Regions from separate parts of the Homo sapiens genome. Here all the other regions are linked to region 1. The links are contacts of gene promoters, found by promoter capture Hi-C in blood cells and fetal thymus (Javierre and others, 2016). All regions are on one chromosome and are shown on one strand. Each heading gives the region's core, a stretch centred on a gene start or on the middle of the fragment in contact. The rest is flanking DNA. Distances are from core to core; before and after follow the strand shown.

Region 1 (2,936 bases), core at 218-2,717:
GATAAACAGCAATTGTAAATAAATCTCATTTAATCTCTAAAAGCCACAATAAAAATCTTTAACCTCCAAGGTAGAGTTTACAGATGCGTCTGCATGCCCTGCCAGCCCCAGAAAACACAAGGTCTTGAATAAACTACTATACCAGGAGGCACATTTTCTCGCTCAAGCATCTTACATTGACCTTCTTTAAAACAAAAATACGTACAAGGAGGAGGAAAGGGGAAAACCCAACCCCTCCCACCCCATTCTCTGTACAAATCGGCCAATAAATCTAACGAAAAGACACAAGAGAAAAAGGACAGAAGCCAACAGGTGGAACAAGGCTTTTTGTTTCCTTAGAAATGCTCAGACACTTGATCTGTGCTCCTCAGTCTATTTGTCTCAGGGTGTCTTTAATGATGTTTTTATTACCCTGATGATGATGATCAAGAATAATGATAACACTTCTACTCTGTGATTCCACAGCATCTCTAGCTGACGATTTCTCCACGCGTTTCAGACACAGTGATCTGTTCTGTTTCGCTCAATCCCAGGGAGGCATACAGCATCCCTGATCAGCAACCTTGATTTTACAGATGGGGAAATTGAGGCACGGGGCACCCCACAACTCAACAGTCTCTACGACCAGAGGAATCCCTGAGACTGGAAAAGTTTCTGGATCGTCTTGTGGCAGAGTTCTCTTGCTCTCCCTTCTTGCCTGCCATGCCGCTCCTCCTCGGAGAGTCTGGGCTGGGGTGGTAAGGATCGGGGTGCCTCCCCTTCACAGCGAGGCACGCCAGGGCAGTGTGTGGGAAGTCCACACGCACACACAGACCCACGGGCACACTGGCACACACAAAGCTCGATGCAATCTCTGCAGTCACTCGGCGGAGCCCTGGCCGGCCCTTGCTCAGCCTGAGAATGCACAGCTCGGAGCCTGCAAGGCCTCCCTGGGCTCTGGGCTGGGGTTTCCCTGAACCAAGGCTCTGCCCTTCTCTCCCTCTTTTCCAGGCTTCCCTCTCTCGCGCTCCCTCTCTCTCTCTCTTTTCCCTCCCACCCTCACACCCTCCTCCCAGCCCTCTCCATCCACCCCTTCTCCCCCACCAACCCAGAGGCACAGATCGTGTTACTGGGGTTCCCTCGAAAGAGGGGCCATCCCCAGTCCTGGATGCCTTGAAAGACTTCCAGGGGCAACGCAGGAGCTCCAATCGCAGGACCCCAGCGCTCCTCCAGAGCAGCGCAGGAATGAGACCCCCACTTCCAGGCACAGGCGAACAAGCCTGCCACCGAAGAAGGAATTGTTAGGGCTCTTACCTTTTTTATGAGGAGAAATTCTGGAGAATCATTTCAGAAACTGAGGGGGGAAAGTGAATGAAGACAAAAAAGACCCTTTTCCCGCAATCCCTGGCCTCCTGGTATCAAGACACCAGGACAACATCAAAGCAACTTAGGGGGAACACTTTAGGGGCCTATTGTCTGCTCTGGTCTGATCTGTTTTTCTTCTGACTCCCCCTCTTGCTGCGGTGACACTTGGTACGGCCCAGGCATTCATGCCAAGTAGCTTTCACACATGGAAGCTTGTCTCAAGCAATTGCTGACAAGCCACAAACAAGACATTCTCCCTCCCTTCTCTGCGCCCCCCCACTCCTCCCCCCTCCACCTTTTCCTCCTCCCCTCTTGTCTCCCCTCCTCCTTTCTTCTGAATGCAAACTAAAACTCTCCAGTGACAGGCAGGCTCGCAGGCTTGGCCTAGCTGCGCACGCAGGCACACACACACACACACACACACACACACACACACACACACACACTCTCTCTCTCTCTCTCTCTCTCTCTCTCTCTCTCTCTCTCTCTCTCTCTCTCTCTCTCCTCTCTCTCTCTCTCTCTCTTCTCTCTCTCTCTCTTCTCTCTCTCTCTCAAGCAGCTCAGCTAGTTGCTGCTGCACTGGTGGAGTTAAGAGACAGGAAAAAGCCCAGGCTGAGTTGGGGGCAGGGAGAAAAAGAGAGGGAGAGCGAGAGCAGAGAGCCGCCTCCTGTGTCCTAGTAAAATGGCAGAAGAGAGGTGAGTCCTTTGGAAGAAAAGCAGTGGCCACACACGTGTGCACACATACACAGACTCAGGCCATCTCAGCGCCAGGAAAAGTGAAATAAATGACCCGACAAAGGAAAAAGCAAAGTCCCATTAGCTGGAGATTGGGGGAGTAGGGAGATAAGAGGGTGAGTGGCCCCAGGACTGGGGTTTCTGTTGAGTGGTTAGGTGATTTTTCTTCTTTACAATAGAGAAAAATTTGTTTCCTAAGGATCTAGCCTTCTTTCACTGCATAATTGAGCATGGACTTGAGCTACTAGTTAAAATAAAATCATGAAATGTGTAAATGTGTGAGTAAACTTAACTGTAGGTTCAACTTGTACCCAAGATATTTTTAAAGTGAAGCTTTTTTTATTTTTTTTTATTTTTTATTTTAGCAGAAACCCTAGAGAGCAGTAGCAAGGAGAGTAGTAACAAGTAGTGTAAACTAGGAGAGCTGTGAAGTGTGATGCTAAAGTTACTGATTGCCAGGCTGCTGGAATTTATGGAGGGTGGGCCTGAGAGTTGGAGGAGGGGAGGGTGAGTGTGCTGTTTTCTAGGAATAAGAGGGGAATGAGGTAGGATAATGAATATGGCAAGAAACAAGCAGGAATTTGATTGGTGTGGAGGGAGGAGGTGGGGGCTGTAAAGGAGTGGAGAGAGAGAGAGAGAGAGAGAGAGAGAGAGAGAAACAACACTGCATTAAAAAAAGAAGAAAAATGGAAGCCCAGAAAGATTGAAACATGCAGAGTAAATGAGATGGTAAAAGAAGGCATAAAATGTGAGCAAAAAGGAGCACAAAGGATGTGCAAATTTGCAGATGGCATGAAATCAGGAGGGCCAATTGAGATCAGGAAGAAGAATGACAGGATGATTATATGACATTCATA
Region 2 (2,936 bases), core at 292-2,791, 250 kb before region 1:
CCATGTTGGGCTTGTAGGAGCTCACATACAGTGGCCGCGTGGCTAACGTTTAGTAAGCACTTGCTATGTGCCAGGCACTGTGCTTAAGACTTTACCCTTTCAACACTCCTCTGACACTACTAACAATTATTAATAACTATTAAATTGTTAATTTAATAATTAGGCATTATTAAAATCTTACAGACGAGACCGAGGCACAGACAGGTCATGTAATGCTTTCAAAGTGACACAGCTGGAGGTGCTGGAGGCAGGATTTAATTCTGGCAGCCTGACTCCAAACTTTCATTGTGAATCATGATGGAGTGCAACCTCTTGTAGTAGAGTTTCACATCAGGTTTTCACTATTTGTGAGAAATTGGCCTCTCTGCTTTTCTTCATTTTATTTCATTCTCAAACTTTTATAGGACTTGGAATCTTTTCTTTGTTGTCTTTCAAGTTATACTTTGATAGGCATTTTTTTTTCTCTCAGAATTTTGTCATTTGGTTGTATCCTGTTCAGGAACTATTTGTTCTCCTATGTTTCTGTTGCACTCAGTCCTTTGTTATATCTTTTCTGTTGTCTTTTTGCTCCTTGCTTTTTTTCTTTTTGAGACAGGGTCTCACTCTTGCCCAGGCTGGAGTGCATTAGTGCAATCTCGGTTCACTGCAACCTCCACCTCCGGGGCTCAAGCAATCCTCTCACCTTAGCCTCCTGAGTAGCTGGGACCACAGGCACATGCCACCATGCTCAGCTATTTTTTTTTAATTTTACTTTTGGTAGAGGTGGGGTTTCACCATGTTGCCCAGGCTAATCTCGAACTCCTGGACTCAAGCAATCTGCCTGCCTCAGCCTCCCAAAGTACTGGGATTATAGGTGTGAGCCACCACACCCGGCCTCCTTGCTTTGTTTCATCTTCTCCTTGCAATAACCAAGAGGGTTAGGATGGAAACTAGAATGTAGAATTCCTGGGTCAGAAGACACCTCGGGAGTCCTCTCTTTCCCTTCTAGCAAGACCAAGCCCTGAGAGAGCATCTGTGGGTTTTATCTCTTAGCATCCATTCCCCTTCTTCATCAACATCAACATTTTGTCTTAGGGAGCCTATCCTTTCCATTTTGATATTAGAGCAAACATGGTGGCAACCACACTGCCTCACGTTGAATGACAGCTAACATTCTCTGTCTCAGTTTCTTAGCTATAATAGTAGCTATCTCATAGGGTGTCTGTGAGAAGAAAATACATGCAGATGTGGTGCTTAGAACAGTGGCTGGTAGAGAATAAACACCATAAATATTAGCGATTTTTATTGTCGATCTTTCCCAAGGCTAGGCCAAGGGAATGTTCTTTCCCTGGAACTTGAATCTTAAGCAGAATGGCAAAAAGACAGAAATCCATTAGAGCTGATTTATTTGGGTAATTGTGCCCTAAAGAAACGGTTAATCAGTTCCTGCTCCCTGGATCCTAGGGCAGTCCTTGTTTCTGGTCCTTCTTGAATTTGAATCTTCAGCTGTTTATTTTTTCTGCACCCCACTTCCAACAAATGCCCCTTTTTTTGCCTCTTCCTCCTCCTCACTTTCCTCTTCACCTTTCTTCTCCTTTTTTTTCCTGTCCTCCTCCCTCAACCCCATCTTCTCTTCTTCCTCTTCCTTCTTTTTATTTTTTAGCTTAAAGTTGTTACATTTGGTTTCTGATGCTTGCTGCCAAAGAACTTTTACCGAGTCAGCATCCCTTGAAAATGGCCCCTCAGCCTTGGTTTAAATATCTTCATAAAACAGCAACCCCCTTTTAATTGGTAAACTCTTATTCTTAGAAAGTACTTCCTCACATTAGGCCAAAAAAATCTTTATAGGACTCTGACGCCAGAACGTTTGGATTTGGAGCCTGGCTCAATTGTTTACTTGCTACGTGGCTTGGACACGTTGTTTAACCTCTGTGCCTTGGTTTCCTCATCTGTAAAACAGAGGATAATAATAGTAACCACTTCATGGTATTGTTGTGAGGATTACATGTCATAACATTTGTAAAGAACAGTGCCTGATAAGAGTAAGTTAATGTGAGCCCTCTTCCTCCCCGTCCTCACTCAGATCCCAGTTCCATCCTTCTGAGCTGCCCAGAATAAGTCAAATCTTCCTTTTCATGCCAACTTTTTGAAAACCGAGATGCCATATTCATATCCCTCTTTCCCCCAGGCTCGATATGCCCTGCTTCCCCCTGACCCATCTGGAGACCTCTTCCCTGTGAGGCCAAGCCCTTCTTGGAAAGATCCAAACCTGTCTTCAACTTTCCTGCCTCTTTAGTTTACTAAAAGTGAAATACAAACAAGCATTTTATAAGGCTTTGTGTTAAAGTTTACCCAACTCACCCAGCCCTAGACACTCCAGACTCTTGGAGCCTATCCCACTGCCCAGGCCTGAGGGTAGAGCCTGGGGTCTGGAGGATGGCACAGGAAGGCATACGGGCAGAATGCAGGGGGCAAACCATTTCCCCTTCCCCTGGCCCGTTCCATCCAGGGTTGTGCAGAAGCTGACCAGACACATTTCCTGCACTTGGCTTGTCCTGCCCCAGACCTATGGCATGACTCTGTGCTAAGCTGTGTCTGGTTGTTGACATGCCAGTGACAAGGCTGAATAATTTCCACTCATAGGAAGAGGCTTCACTGCATGGAGAGCAAGAGTCTAGTTGATAATAACATCACTTGCCTGGCACATTGCAGCTTGGAACACATTTGTTCATCACAATATTTTAATGAATTTGTCACAGTCAGAAAGCCTTTTTACAAAAAGGGGCACCCTTTTTATACATGAGAACATTAAGGCTTGGAGACATTAAGGGACTTGCCCAGAATCACACAGCCACCAAGTGACGCAACTTCCATTGGAGTTGAGTTCAGTGTTTTTTGTGATGTGCTTGTTCTGAAGCCTTCTGCTGCTGTTTGATTATTCCTGTGACTATATCGGT
Region 3 (2,936 bases), core at 160-2,659, 240 kb after region 1:
CTTTTTCTATTGATTGGAATAGTTTCAGAAGGAATGGTACCAGCTCCTTCTTGTACCTCTGGTAGAATTCGGCTGTGAATCCATCTGGTCCTGGACTTAAAGTCTGTTTTATCAGAGACTAGGATTGCAAACCCTGCTTCTTTTGCTTTCCATTTGCTTGGTAAATATTCCTTCATCCCTTTATTTTGAGCCCATGTGTGTCTTTGCATATGAAATGGGTCTCCTGAATACAGCACACCGATGGGTCTTGACTCTATCCAATTTGCCAGTCTGCGTCTTTCAATTGGGGCATTTAGCCCATTTACGTTTATTGTTAATATTGTTATGTGTGAATCTGATCCTGTTGTCATGATGTTAGCTGGTTATTTTGCACATTAGTTGATGCAGTTTCTTCATAGTGTTATTGGTCTTTATATTTTGGCATGTTTTTGCAGTAGCTGGTACTGATTTTTTCCTTTCCATATTTAGTGCTTCCTTCAGGAATTCCTGTAAGGCAGGACTGGTGGTGACAAAATCCCTCAGCATTTGCTTGTCTGGAAAGGATTTTATTTCTCCTTCACTGATCAAGCTTAGTTTGTCTCGATATAAAATTCTGGGTTGAAAGTTATTTTCTTTAAGAATGTTGAATATTGGCCCCCACTCTCTTCTGGCTTGTGGCGTTTCCGCAGAGAGATCCACTGTTAAGTCTGATGGGCTTCCCTTTATGGGTAACCTGACCTTTCTCTCTGGCTGCCCTTAACATTATTTCCTTCATTTCAGTCTTGGTGAATCTCACAATTATGTGTCTTGGGGTTGCTCTTCTCAAGGAGTATCTTAGTGGTGTTGTCTGTATTTCCTGAATTTGAATGTTGCCCTGTCTCACTAATTTGGGGAAGTTCTCCTGGATAATATCCTGAAGTGTGTTTTCCAACTTGGTTCCATTCTCCATCACTTTCAGGTACACCAATCAATCGTAGGTTTGGTCTTTTCACATAGTCTCATATGTCTTGGGAGGCTTTGTTCATTCCTTTTCATTTTTTCTCTAATCTTGTTTTCACGCTTTATTTCACTAAGTTGATCTTCAATCTCTGATATCCTTTCTTCCGCTTGACCAATTTGGCTACTGATACTTGTGTATGCTTCATGAAATTCTCATGCTGTGTTTTTCAGTTTCATTGGGTCATTCATGTTCTTTTCTAAACCGGTTATTCTCGTTAGCATTTCCTATAACCTTTTATCAAGGTTTCTTAGCTTCCTTGCATTGGGTTAGAACATGCTCCTTTAGCTCAGAGGAGTGTTATTACCCACCTTCTGAAGCCTACTTCTGTCAATTCATCAAACTCATTCTCCATCCAGTTTTGGTCCCTTGCTGGTGAGGAGTTGTGATCCTTTCAAAGAGAAGAGGCATTGTGGTTTTTGGAATTTTCAGCATTTCTGCACTGGTTTTTCCTTATCTTCATGGATTTATGTACCTTTGATGTTTGATGCTGAGGACCTTTGGATGGGGTTTTTGCATGGACATCCTTTTTGTTGATGTTGATATTATTGCTTTCTATTAGTTTTCCTTCTAACAGTCAGGCCCCTCTTCTGCAGGTCTGCTGGAGTTTGCTGGAGGTCCACTCCAGACCCTGTTTGCCTGGGTCTGCAGAGCCTGCAGAGCCTGCAGAACAGCAAATATTGCTACCTGTTTCTTTCTCTCAAAGCTTCATCCCAGAGAGGCACAAGCCTTACTATGAATACTGCTGTAATAAACAAGTGAATGCAGGTTTTCCTTTGATATATTGCTTCATTTTCCTTTAGTAGATACCTAGTGGTGGGACTGCTAGATTAAATGGTAATTCTATTTGAGTTTTTTGAGAAATCTCCATGCTGTTTTCCATAGTGGTTGTACTAGTTTACATTCCCACCCACAGTGAATAAGAGTTCCCTTTTCTCTGCATTCTTGCCAGCATTTTTTTTTGTCTTTTTAATGGTAGCCATTCTGACTAGGGTAAGATATTATCTCATTGTGGTTTTGATTTGCATTTACCTGATGATTAGTGGTGTTAAGCATTTTTCTTTTACCTCTTGGCCATTTGTATGTCTTCTTTTGAGAGTTGTCTATTATGTCCTTTGTCCACTTTTTTATTCTTTTGTTGTTAACTGTTGAGTTGTTTGAGTTCCTTGTGTATTCTGGATATTAGTCACCTGTCAAATGAATGGCTTGCAAATATTTTCTCCCATTTAATAGGTTGTCTCTTCACTCATTTATTCTGCTGTAGAGAAGCTTTTTAGTTTAATTAAGTCCCATTTTTCTGTTTTTGGTTTTGTTCCCTGTGCTTTTGAGGTCTTAAGTCATACATTCTTTGCCTAGAACAATATCCAAGAGAGTTTTCCCTAGATTTGCTTCTAGTATTTTTATAGTTTTGGGTCTTATATTTAAAGTCTTTAATGCACTTTGAATTTACTTGGTGTATGGTGAGAGGTAAGGGGTCCAGTTTCATTCTTCTGCATGTGGCCATCCAATTTTCCCAGCACTATTTGTTGAAGATAGTCTTTTTTCCCCAGTGTAAGATCTTGTTGGCTTTGTTGAAGATCAGCTGGCTGCAAATACATGGCTTTATTTCTGGATCCTCTATTCTGTTCCATTGGTCTATGTGTTTATTTTTATACTAATACCATGATGTTTTGGTTACTATAGCTTTGTAACATATTTTGAAGTCAGGTTATGTGATGTCTCCAGTTTTGTTCTTTTTGCTCAGGATTGCTGGAAAATTACTTTGAAACAAATTTTATATTTAGCCGAGAATTTATTCAAATGTGTGTGAATAATAAAAAGATTCTGAGCTACACTAAGTTCCTAAAGTGGGGTGAAGGAGTGAGACATGTTAGCAAGGTAGTAAAGTGGTCCAGGCCAACATCTGCTGGTTCTATTTCTCTTATTTAAACAGTTCCTCCAAAAATGTTTTTAAAATGAA
Region 4 (2,936 bases), core at 306-2,805, 220 kb before region 1:
TCACTGCACTCCAGCCTGGGTGACAAAGTGAGACCCTGTCTCAAGAAAAAAAAAAAAAGAATAGTCCCCACTTCCTCAGGCTGTTGTGAGAATCAAATGAAAACAGATATGGAAAGACACTTATAGAGTGTCTGGCACATAGAAAGGTGTCAGTGAGTGTTATTTTATTTCCATTATTATTATTATCACCTAGATCCAAATTCTTTTTTTGTGTGTGTAACTGGGTAAACTAGAAGACGTAGTTGGGAATATCAAAGGATAACAAAGATTACTGAAGTAGCTGAGGATCAAGACCACTTTCTCATGCAATTCTCCCTACATACCCATTTTAAGGAGAAATTATTGGGGTGAGAGGAAATCAGAAAACATGTACACAAATTAATAAGGTACAAAAGACTTCTGACATAAAGGTTATGCTTGGTGCTTTGCTTTATAAAGCTACCTTGATGTCTGACATGGCAGAGGAGCTCGATAAGCACTTTCTGAACTAAACTGCACTGATATGATACTATTTCTCAGGCAGCCTTTCAGTGAGGCCCTTTGGGTCCTTTCACAACAGAATTTTCTTAATTGGGAAGCAAATGAACTCTGCCCTGCACCACATTCCACTGTATGGTGAGTGGAATTATAGCATGGGCCCAGGGGGTTGTTATTATTACTATGAATAACAACCTTTATGGAGAACCAGAGATCTGTTAGATACTGTCCAGAACATGTGTCGTTGTCCAGAATTAGACTCAGACTCTGTGGAGTGGTCTTGTCATCTAATTTTGACAAGCTTGGATAAGTTCCCCAGTACTATGAGGGGAGGAGGCAGTGAGAGAGTAGTCCACAGTGATGGAATTTCTGCTTGAGACACATTCATTCCTGCTGAGAGAACGGCTCTGTCACAGGTAGAAGAAACACTCAGTGGCTTCCATCTCCCTGGTGTTCTGGTCACCATCGTCATTGGGCAGGTGTCCCTATGCCAGCTTCCCAGGCAGGCCCCTCCACTGACATGCAGCATGGCCCCAACGTGTTGCTTGGCCTCTGTGTGCATTCTCATCCTTTTCTTCAGCAACCGGTAAATAATTGCCTTGATCAATTTGGCATTAGGTGTTTTGAGAGACCTAAATGCTATCAATTCATCCATCGTTGTTTTTATAAAGTACATACCACACTGTGCAGGGTGTGGTATTGAGCACTAAGGGGTTTGGGGTGGAGGGAATTTCAGGAGGATAATACAATGATGAACAGAAAAGCAGTTTGTCTTCAAAGAGCTCAGGGTTGAGTGGGAGAGAGAATACATGGCCTGTAGAGCAACTAATTCTCAGGTGTGTGAGACCTCCAAGGCTTTACAGTTCAGCCCAAGGCCCAGCTGCTGACTTGGGGGACACAGAAATTATTGTAAAATACTATATTAGAAAGGCTATTATGTGTGACTCCACAGGACAGAACTGGAATCAAGAGAAAGAAGAGAATTTTCAAGGCATCCCTATGGTAGGGCCTCACTCACTAGCAATATACCTTCTTAAGCAGGAGAGACGAGGGTGCAGTCACAGCAAGTGTGCTGGGAGGTACCTGTCATCTGCAGCCTACCTAGTTGATGCTGCAGCCACTACTAAAAGACTGCTACAAGCATGGACATTACTAATTGTGCAGTCCTTTACATCCCCAACCCCATTTGGAGGCTTCAGATTAGGCCCTCAGGAGCAAATAATGGACTAAGCATGGCCTATCATGTGGGTTGAGAATGACTCCAAACTCCTAGGCATGGCTGTTAAAGCCCTCCACAATCTGCTCCTGCCTGCTATGCAGACTCTCCTTCCATGCTCTGCTCATTGTACTCTAAAACCATGCTGGTTTTCATTTCAATGAATTTGTTCATGCAGTCTTGCCTTTGTCTGAAATCCCCTCATCTCTTCTGCAACTCCTCCATCCACTCCACACCCCTACAGACATCACATACCCCTAACTCCTACACCAGAGTTATCTCCACTGGGAAGTCCTCTCGAAGGTCTAAGAATTGATGAGCTCCACTCTTGGAGGGGAGATGGAATGAAACTTTCTGGCATGCACCAGACTTGAACAGAAACTCTGGAATGAAGCCCTGGTTCTTCCCCCATTAATTGTTTATTTGAACGAATCACTTTTATATGTTTCCTCCTCTGCAAAACACAGGCAATAACAATCACCCCACAGAGTGGTTATGAGGATTCATTCATTCAACAATAAAAATTGAATGTCTATAACATTCTGAAGGTATTCGGTCTTGAACAGAACAAATATGATCCTGCTCTCTTGGAACCAACAAGAGAATGTAGAAGCACATTTTGAACAGTATGTAAGCTTTTATTTTTATTTATTTATTGTGAGGTTTTATTTTTACTGCTGACCTTAAGAAGAAAGACTTGAGCCTCCTTAGGACCTCTTTGCAATCTTACTGCTAGCCAAACATTTTCTTCAATCATTAAGAAAGCATTTATTGTGTACCAAATGAGAGAACCTAATGCAATAAGAATGCAAAGTAGAAGACAGGGCTTTTAACTTTGAGAAGCATACTACCCATTTGAGAGAAAAAGCTGTTAAATACTTGACAGAAGGAATCATGCCTGACTTTATTAATTTTTTTTTTTTTTTTTTTTGAGACGGAGTCTCACTCTGTTGCCTAGGCTGGAGTGCACTGACGTGATCTCAGCTCATTGCAACCTCCACCGCCCGGATTCAAGCAACTCTCCTGCCTCAGCCTCCTGAGTAGCTGGGATTACAGGTGCCCACCACCACACTGGGCTAATTTTTGAATTTTATTAGAGATGGGGTTTCACCATGTTGGCCAGGCTGGTCTTAAACTCCTGACCTCAGATGATCTGCCCGCCTCGGCCTTCCAAAGTGCTGGAATTACAGGCATGAGCTACCACACCCGGCCGATTTTATTAATTTAATAGACACCATTGAGT
Region 5 (2,936 bases), core at 277-2,776, 200 kb before region 1:
AGGAGCTCTGGGTCTTTGAACTGATTCTGGTCTAGATTCTCTACCGTGGTGATTTGTGTCAGGCTTATGTTTGTCAGACCTCCAATTTATTTGATTATCCAGTCAAAGAAGTAATTTACTGAGCTGCCCCTCTATGTTGCTCTTAGGGACCCATAATCAGGTTAATACTTCCAGTGATTCCCGTGGGTCAAACCTGCTGATTCCACTCTGGCCCTGATGTTCTTTGTAGTAACCATGGCTGCCCTACCTCTGATGGCTAAGTGTTGCCTCTTCCACTCCAGGATCCAAACATCTCCTGTGAAATCAGGGAGCTCATTTCAATTGCATCATCTCCTACCTGCAATGCCAGCCTAAAATAATCTAGTTTACAGATGGATTTGTATAATATTCTGGCACCAGCAGTAAGCGGACTGCTCTTACAGCTCTACTTCAGGGGTGACCCTGCAGGACGGTAGAGAAGGGAAATCCTTCCACTATGCAGAGCTTTGAGTGGTATTTGTCATGGTGCACTTTGTGTGGAAGGACAAATGACCTGAGATCTGGATCTAAGCCAATTCATGGACAAGGGCTAATGGTTTGGTTAAGCAGTCAGGAACTTGGAAGGAATAAACTTCATGGATTTGTGACAAGGAGTTTTGGGGAAAATACATATAAACAAACTAATCATAATGGGTGAAAATATATTTATTCCATGAGAATGTTCTCCCAAAGGTGTCCACAGTGTAGGAGACTCTCAAATAGTGTACAAGATTTCATGCCATATGAATGTCAGTCAACCTCTTTCCCACTCACCGCAGTATTTTTCTCAGTGAGTTTATGAACATCACCATGGTGGTAGGATTAAGATCATAGATAAGCTCAACAAGTACTTTCCTTTACTGAGGCTGATCTGACCACACCACTGCTGAGTATTCAATTTCTTAGAGGCAGTGACTAACCTTGAAACCTTTAATCTAGTACCATGGCCTAGAGGTCTCAGTCTAGCACTTGCCTGGAAGGCTGATTACATTGGATTCCTTTTCATGGAGGGGGCAACAATTTGGTTCTCATTGGAGCAGATATTTATCTGGATATGGATTTGCCTTCTCTGTCCGCCATGCTTCTGTCAGGAACATCACTTACGGGTTTAACAGATGCTTGATTCACCGTCATGGAATCTTTTGTTTTGTTTTGTTTTTGAGACAGAGTTTCACTCTGTCACCCAGGCCAGAGTACAGTGGCACCACCACAGCTCACTGCAGCCTTGACCTCCTGGGCTCAGTCTTCCCACCTCAGCCTCCCTAGTAGCTGGGACTATAGGTGAGCACCACCATACCCAGCTAATTTTTTTTTTTTTCTAATTCTAGGCTCAAGCCATTAGTCCGCCTTGGCCTCTCAAAGTGCTGGGATTACAGGCGTGAGCCACCATGCCCAGCCTGTCATGGAGTCTTACATGTAATTGTTTCTAGCATCACCATAATGCTAAACCAACTGCATAATTACCATAATGCTGTAACAACAGCAATGACAACAACAAAATTCAGTGGTTTAACAAAATGAAAATTTATTTCTTGTTCATGTAATTGTCCAAAGTATATATTTCTGATTTGCAGTATCCCTTCATGTGGTGTTTAGGGGCCATCTTTTGGCTCTAGTATTCCTTAGAAGCTGAACATTCCCAGCATTCAGATGACAGACAGGAGAAGAGAATGTGGATCATCCCCATCAACTTCTTAAAAATCAAAGCCTGGAAGTGATACACATCACTTCTACTCATATTCCATTGGGGATAGCTAGTTACACAAATGGAAGGGATGCTCAGAAATAGTCAATCCCAATGTCAATTCTATATGAATATTTGGTGAACAGCTAGTCATCTAGGTCTAATGTTATCTGTGTGCCAGGCAAATGCATTATGGTAATTATGCATTTGGTTTAGCATTATGGTGATGCTTGAAACAATTACATGTTAGACTCCATGACAAGCTGGCAATGGTGGCTCACACCTGTAATCCCAGCACTTTGAGAGGCCAAGGCAGGTGGATGGCTTGAGCCTAGGAGTTAGAGATCAGCCTGGCCAAGATGGCAAAACCCCATCTATACAAAAAAAATACAAAATTGATCACCAAATATCAGTGGATACCTTTCTTCCCATACTTAAACACTTAGAACATAAACACACACCACGAAATAAAAAATCTCATTCAGCCACCACATCCAGCTCAAAGTCTAGGATCTCTGAGAGGTGTGCAGTTCTTTTTGGCAAGTCTGGATCTACCTCCTTATGGTCTGGAGACTTAGAAACTCAAAACAACTATCTGTGTTCCACTAATCACCACCCAAAATACAACATGGAGGTAGAAACACAGGAATAGTACAGGACATTCTAAAGTCCTCTTTCGGGAAGGGAAGAATGGGAGCTACAGAGCAGTCTCTTGTCCATCACAATGATGAAATCTTGCTTGAATAGGCACGATAAAAACTGCCTGCTCCAATATGAGGGGAAATTTCTGGATTAGATCTTAATTCTGATCTCTGGTGGAATTTCCTTGTCCATTGTTCTCCCTGGTACCTGGCTCCACCTTTGGCAGATTCTTCCGTGTACACTTTCCTCCATGGTCTCATCTGAAATGAACATCGTTGAGTTGGCCTTCCTTGGAACTACACAACATTCACAGCCTGCTTCCTGCTAGTGCAGATTTGGAGCCCTGAGAGCTGTTTTATATTTCAGGGTATTTTTTATTTATTTTAGCCAGGATTATGATTTATCTGCCAACACAATTCTCTCAAAGACAGTAGGCTTCTAATCTATTTGCTTCCAGTCAATTGCATGTGCCAGTAGCCCAAAAGTCTTTCCTAGACACAAGTCTTAGTACTGTCCTATTTCTTTGTTTCCTCACCCTCATGCCTCTCTCAACTCATCTGAGGCTACCCTATAACCATCTGGCCACAGGGTT
Region 6 (2,936 bases), core at 321-2,820, 180 kb before region 1:
TTTTTCCCTATGCTTAACAAGACCAGTGCCTTGAGAGAGCAACACATAGTTATGAACACAATAATGGATATATTTACAGCATAAATTGTTAGTATAAAATGAAAATATTTGTCCTTTGTCTACTTGACAAATCTGTTTGTCAAATCAAACCTATTCCTGTGGCATATTGGAAGCATATTCAATTTTAAAAAATACTTTTATGCCTTACATAACTAAAAATGGGTGATTTATAGAAATTCTAAAATTATTTTTTAAGACAAATTAAAAATGCTTGTAAATAGAACTTCTTACCTGTTAACTATTAATATCTAAAATAACAGCTTGTTTTTCATGATTACTGAATGTCTGTCCAATCATTGGCTAAATAGTCTCCTGAGAACCACACACCCCTGAATCCTGGGGAAAATAAATATTTTTATTTTAAGTAAAGTGATGACTTGTAACAGTGCCAGATTTTTCTCACTCTGGCCCAATACTAGTTTCTCTTCGTTTTCACCTTTCCCCCACTCAAGTCCAGCCACCTCTGATAATGAGTGTTCACAAGTTTGTCATATGGCTCTCTATGCCTTCGAAGCCCTTTGTAATTAGGCTAAAACTTACTTCAAGGCCCAGCCTCAATGTCACTTCCTCTGTGAGGTGGCCCCAGTAACCCACAACGGAATTAGCCATTCCCTTCCCTGTGTTGCCTGGTACTCCTGTGGCACTTTTCACCCAGGGGTGCGTATTTCCCTATGTGACTTCTTTGGTTTCAGAACTCCTTGAAGACAAGGACCATGACATATTTGCCATTGTATTCCTACACATGCTTGGCATATGGTAGGTGTGTAATAAATATTTCTTTCATGGACTTATTGAATCATTTCTGGTCTGCATTCAGCATATTTTTTTATATCTCTACTAACTAATGATGCCCAGCCAGTACAGAGGAAGTGGACCCCCACCTCACACAGCAGAAGCCGTTTGTCCTAACTTCTTTGTTAGGTCTGCTTCCGTGGCAACAGCAAGCAGACTTTACCTCCCCCAGATCCCTTTGATTCTCTGTTTACTGCTCCATCTCTTTTTGTGTTTCCCTAGGAGTGAGAATGAGAACAAAACCTCTGTAATGCATATGATTTGCAAAGACTTATCTGCTAAAAAACATTTTTGTAAAAATTCAGTTAAGCTTACCTTATTATATACTTCAGTAGCCCTCCCAGCAATGCCTAGCACAGCTCCTGGCTCAAAATAGATTGGATCAATTAATACGTGGTTTTGTCAGTGCTATAAAATTTCCAAGGAAGTTAAAATATTTCAGATGGCAAAAATGATACATTATTGGGATATCATTTTCATGGGTACATACATGGGACTGGAGAGGTTAAATGCTAGGAAATGCTGTGCTTCCCATGTCATTACCAACAACCCTCACAAGCTACTGAGAGTTTTGCTTTTTGTTGTTGTTGTTTGTTTTGTAGAGATGGGGTCTTACTATGTTGCCCAGGCTGGTCTTGAACTCCTGAGCTCAAGCGATCCTTTCACCTCGGCCTCTCAAAGTGCTGGGATTACAGGCATGAGCTACCACATCCAGCCTACTGGGAGTTTTGACATATTTACTGTGGTAAACTTGTTTCATAAACTCAGTAAAGATAGACTTCAACCCAACCCCGGTGAAAGTAACCCCAATTTTGAATGATAGCATCAAAATGGAGGAAGACTGTACTAAACACAGAGCTGCAGCCAGCCCTAACATGCCCCTTTTGTATGGACCTCCAACCTCCAGCTCGCATCAACTCACTATTGACACAAGGAGATCATAGATTTAGAACATTTTTGCAGTGGAAGGGACTTGAGAAATCATCTAGTGAAATTCTTCCAGCCCAGAGACCTTAGATGCTCAGGTTTACACTAAAGGGCCAATGGCAGAGCCAGTGCTATTTTCAATATTTCAAAAAAGTCTAGTGGAAATCGTGCGTTTACTAGCAATTATACAAAAGCTTTTGAAAAGGCAGGCTTATTCACGTTTGCTTTAGTTAAGGTTTTGTCAATTCTGTGTTACAAAATTCCTTTCTCTTGCTGATTTAAGTCTTTGAGTAATAAAGGATGGAAAATGATCTATCTGTTGAGTATCTATACAAGGGAAAGGCAATCAGCACCTCATAGGGATAGCTGCACTCCCATATTAATTCACAAGAGCCAAGATATGGAAACAACTTAAGTGCTCATTGATGGATGAATGGATTTTTAAAATGGATATATATGTATATATGTATATGGATATATATGTATATATGTATATGGATATATATATATGTATATGGATATATATATGCACAGACACACACACACACACATGCACAATGGAGTATTATTCTGTCTTTAAAAAGAAGGTATTGCCATTTGTGACAATACGGATAAATGCGGAGGGCATTATGCTAAGTGAAATAGGACAGACATAGAAAAATACTGTATAACCTTACTTATATACAGAACCTAAAAAATATGTTAAGTTAAAAAAATAGAAACAGTAGATGAGTGGTTACCAGGAGTGGGGAGGGAGGAAATGGGGATAAGCAGGTCAAAGGGTAGGAATTTGCAGTTAGGTAGAATGACTAAGAGACCTAATGTACAGCATGAGGACTATAGTAATAATGCATTATTGTACTGTGTACTGAAAATTCACTGAGAGAGTAGATTTTAGGGGCTCTTACCACAAAAAAAGGATGGGGGTAACTATGGAGAGTGGTGGATGTATTAATTTGTTTGACTGTAATAATTATTTTACTATGTATATGTACATCAAAACATCATGTTGTTTACCTTAAATATATACAATAAAAATAAATTTTAAAAAATGGAAAAATAATTTATTAAATGGCAGGGTGTTTTGAGCTGATCAAATCTTTTCAAACATAAAGTCCATGCAAAGAGAAATAGTAAAAGAGTTCCATGGTAGAGAA
Region 7 (2,936 bases), core at 275-2,774, 160 kb before region 1:
TCCACCTCCCGGGTTCAAGCAATTCTCCCACCTCAGCTTTCCCAGTAGCTGGGATTACAGGTGCATACCACCACACCCGGCTAATTTTTGTATTTTTTGGTAGAGACAGGGCTTCACCACGTTGGCCAGGCTGGTCTCAAACTCCTGACCTCAAGTGATCTGCCCACCTTGGCCTCCCAAAGTACTGGGATTACAGGTGTGAGCCACTGCACCTAGCAGAGAATTGCTTTTCTTGAGCTTTGGTGCAGTTACCCCTAATGAGTTCCATCCCAGTGCCTACAGTAAAGAGTTGTTACTGAAGACCCTTTTCATGATATTACACAAGATCTTCCTTATGGCGTGTCTTAAGATAATTTTCTTTCTGGTTTTAATATTAGGAATAAGTTGTTTTGCTGGTTTTCACCTCGTGACCCCTGTGGCTTGGGCACTTAATAAGCTCCCACCTTTTCAAGTGATCTCCGGGAAGCTTGGCATCAATTGGTGGCCCACCAGTAATCAAGAGTTGGAATCATTAGGGATACATTTTTGTATCCCCCTTGTTCCTCGTCCTTGTTTTTCCTTTCTTTTATTCATCTACCTTTAATTTAATCTTGATTAACTATATCTGTATACGCACTTTAAATTTTTTTAAAGCTATCCCTTACAGGAAGGAAAATCTTTTCTAGAATAAGGAAGAGGAGGAAAGAAGAAAAAAAGGAGAAGGTAAAGAAGGTCAGAGACTACTAAAAGTCCAAGGAAACCACGAAGGCCTAAGTCAGATAGAATGGCCAGTTCTTCATAAGCATGGGGTAATGTATAATGCATAGCAAAACAAACATCAAGAATAGAAACCTGTCAGATCAGAGCATCAGAGCTAGTCGGTTGCAGGAGTCATGAAGCATGATATGCTGTTAGGAGGAGCTCCAGAGAGCAGAGCCCCATATGAACCATAAGCAAGGACTGTTTGATCCTCACCCAGATTTCCAAGCTCAGCAAGAGAAAAGGAAGGAAAATAGAGGGGAAAAAAGGTCTTTTCTGTGTTGCTACTCATTATTAGGAATGATTTGGAAAGCCAGTTCATAATATTGTCCTAGAATTGAGCTTCTGCTTCTAATAGTGTCAGTGATCTTGTTATACCTATGGTGTTAAAATATGTATATTTATGTAGCACAGAAGTACTCAAATTCTCTGGCCTTTTAATACACAAATAACAATAGCTAAATTCCTATCAAGCATCCTCTAGGGCTGCAGAAAGTGCCTTTTATCAGGTTCGCCTCCTCAAGTACCTCCAGTGGTCACTGAGAAAACCTCCCCGGTTCCATAAACCCTCTCTGCTTGTCACGTGCCATCTCAGTCCGAGCCCTTGCCCCCCAGAATATTGAGGTGCCATGCTCCTGCTTTCACCTCTTGTTGTCTTGTAACTCCAGGAATACCAACTCCCTCTACATGTAGTGCCTTAAATATGCATATAGCCATGTTCCTTAGCTCCCCAAATGTGGCTAATCTGAATCTAATCTGGGTGTGTAATAAATGCCCTTGGAACAAAGACATACAACAGAGAGTAGCTGACAAATGCCATTATATCTCCATGCTCAGAATCTAGGCTCAATTTCCACCAGACCCAAAGATCTCCCTCATTTTCAGTCCAAAGCCCACCTCATTTCTCTGTCTCTGTAGAGCATCTATTGTCTTCCATTCTCTTACAGGGCACAGTGAGGCCCTATTCTGTAACAAAAATGGCCTATTCTGTACTAAATAAAACCATGTGGCACAACAAACAGTCCACATCCTCTCCAGTCTTTTATCTTGTGTGCAGTAAAGAGACAATAAGTCCTGTGCATCATACCTGCCATAACCTTGCCTCCTGCGTTCAGTGTGCAAATGCTTGAGCAAAACCCCTATGCATTTCATACACATAGAATGCTCAGAATACCACAGCTCAAATCCATGTGTAGAAAAAAATGTCCTAAATCTGAGGTCACACTCCAGATAATAGATCCAAATAGAATACTTAGCAGGTTTCCCCAAGGACAAGTGGATTCTTACCTTACATCTGCCTGACCAAAGAGATCACTTACAAGACTCTCTCAGAACAGAAGGGTCTCAAAACAAGAGAAGGATCTTAACACACTCCAGTATCCTCATCTGAGTGCAGATGCTGTTTACAGGCCTCTAGCTGGCAGTTTTCCCACTCCATTCAGGCAAAGATCAAGCCACTACTTGAAAACCTATGAATTACCACTCTATGACACCTTCATTGTGTCTATTCCTGATTCTGGTTCTAATCATGCACAAAACTTAAATATATAAAATGTCCAAATCAGCTGGTAAGCTAAATAATTATTGTCATTGCATTTTAGTGATATCACAGTGCCTGTGGTATCTTGTAATTTATGTTTTTTTCAATAGCAACTTGATCATTTTAGTTTGAGGTTGTGTCTCCATAAATAGTTGGGTTGAATATAAGAATAAGTAATTTTTTTTAACTTTCATAATAGGCAGCAACTGAATAATGAATCAATCCCTAAAAGAGAGTCACTCCAGTTATCCTGAAGACTAACTACGTGAGTTTAGTTGACATACGTCAGCCTTCTAAAGCTTGGACACTCCTGGGGTACTGATAAAATGGATCCTATGAAGCTGAAGACCAGTCTTCATATTTATGATGAGCTCCCAAAGCGTGGTCATGGCATGAGGACCTTCCTGGGCCATCATCATCCAGCTTCTCTTTGGCATCTCTTTAGCTATAGTGGCACACAGGTGCCACTTAAGGGGTACTTTTTGCTAAATAACAAGGACCTTGTTATCAAATGTAGCTTAAATGAATATTACTCTCACCTGTAGAAACCCTAAGACTTATTTTCAGCTCTTGGTCACTTGCTGCTGCTATTTTTGGCTATCATTTTTTGAGTTGTTACTAACTGCCAATCTCTGTGATAAGCTACTTTCGTATATTA

The links. Contacts are between HindIII fragments. The CHiCAGO score rates a contact against its expected background, and 5 or more counts as called.
Region 2: a contact is called between a fragment that was not itself captured here and the fragment with the promoter of BCL9 in region 1, in 1 of 17 cell types (neutrophils). The highest score is 5.1, in neutrophils.
Region 3: a fragment that was not itself captured here is called in contact with the fragment with the promoter of BCL9 in region 1 in 2 of 17 cell types (erythroblasts and neutrophils); the score reaches 6.7 in erythroblasts.
Region 4: a fragment that was not itself captured here is called in contact with the fragment with the promoter of BCL9 in region 1 in 1 of 17 cell types (neutrophils); the score reaches 6.6 in neutrophils.
Region 5: a contact is called between a fragment that was not itself captured here and the fragment with the promoter of BCL9 in region 1, in 1 of 17 cell types (neutrophils). The highest score is 5.9, in neutrophils.
Region 6: a fragment that was not itself captured here is called in contact with the fragment with the promoter of BCL9 in region 1 in 3 of 17 cell types (neutrophils, megakaryocytes and erythroblasts); the score reaches 7.2 in neutrophils.
Region 7: a contact is called between a fragment that was not itself captured here and the fragment with the promoter of BCL9 in region 1, in 3 of 17 cell types (neutrophils, naive CD4 T cells and monocytes). The highest score is 5.8, in neutrophils.

Annotation. Positions count from the first base shown.
Region 1 is chr1:147,540,032-147,542,967 of GRCh38, reverse strand. It overlaps BCL9 (BCL9 transcription coactivator), which reads right to left and starts at 1,467. Exons shown (of 10, transcript NM_004326.4): 1 at 1,294-1,467. RefSeq lists enhancers at 1,422-1,481, 1,042-1,796, 1,515-1,809. The HindIII fragment of the contact is 5,169 bases long and covers 1-1,558 here.
Region 2 is chr1:147,787,600-147,790,535 of GRCh38, reverse strand. LOC102723321 (a long non-coding RNA gene) reads right to left here. Exons shown (of 3, transcript XR_922079.4): 3 at 846-1,928. Among named protein-coding and RNA genes, the nearest start is that of GJA5, 28 kb to the right of the region's middle. The HindIII fragment of the contact is 8,318 bases long and covers 1-2,936 here.
Region 3 is chr1:147,303,357-147,306,292 of GRCh38, reverse strand. No RefSeq gene overlaps it. Among named protein-coding and RNA genes, the nearest start is that of CHD1L, 62 kb to the right of the region's middle. The HindIII fragment of the contact is 1,677 bases long and covers 571-2,247 here.
Region 4 is chr1:147,764,512-147,767,447 of GRCh38, reverse strand. All of the region lies in intron 1 of LOC102723321 (a long non-coding RNA gene), which reads right to left. It also overlaps a transcript of GJA5 not described here. Among named protein-coding and RNA genes, the nearest start is that of GJA5, 5.4 kb to the right of the region's middle. The HindIII fragment of the contact is 1,550 bases long and covers 781-2,330 here.
Region 5 is chr1:147,741,881-147,744,816 of GRCh38, reverse strand. All of the region lies in intron 1 of LOC102723321 (a long non-coding RNA gene), which reads right to left. Among named protein-coding and RNA genes, the nearest start is that of GJA5, 17 kb to the left of the region's middle. The HindIII fragment of the contact is 7,001 bases long and covers 1-2,936 here.
Region 6 is chr1:147,724,411-147,727,346 of GRCh38, reverse strand. All of the region lies in intron 2 of LOC105371230 (a long non-coding RNA gene), which reads left to right. All of the region lies in intron 1 of LOC102723321 (a long non-coding RNA gene), which reads right to left. Among named protein-coding and RNA genes, the nearest start is that of GJA5, 35 kb to the left of the region's middle. The HindIII fragment of the contact is 811 bases long and covers 1,165-1,975 here.
Region 7 is chr1:147,701,971-147,704,906 of GRCh38, reverse strand. All of the region lies in intron 2 of LOC105371230 (a long non-coding RNA gene), which reads left to right. The region is part of intron 1 of LOC102723321 (a long non-coding RNA gene); the gene reads right to left. Among named protein-coding and RNA genes, the nearest start is that of ACP6, 33 kb to the right of the region's middle. The HindIII fragment of the contact is 2,111 bases long and covers 469-2,579 here.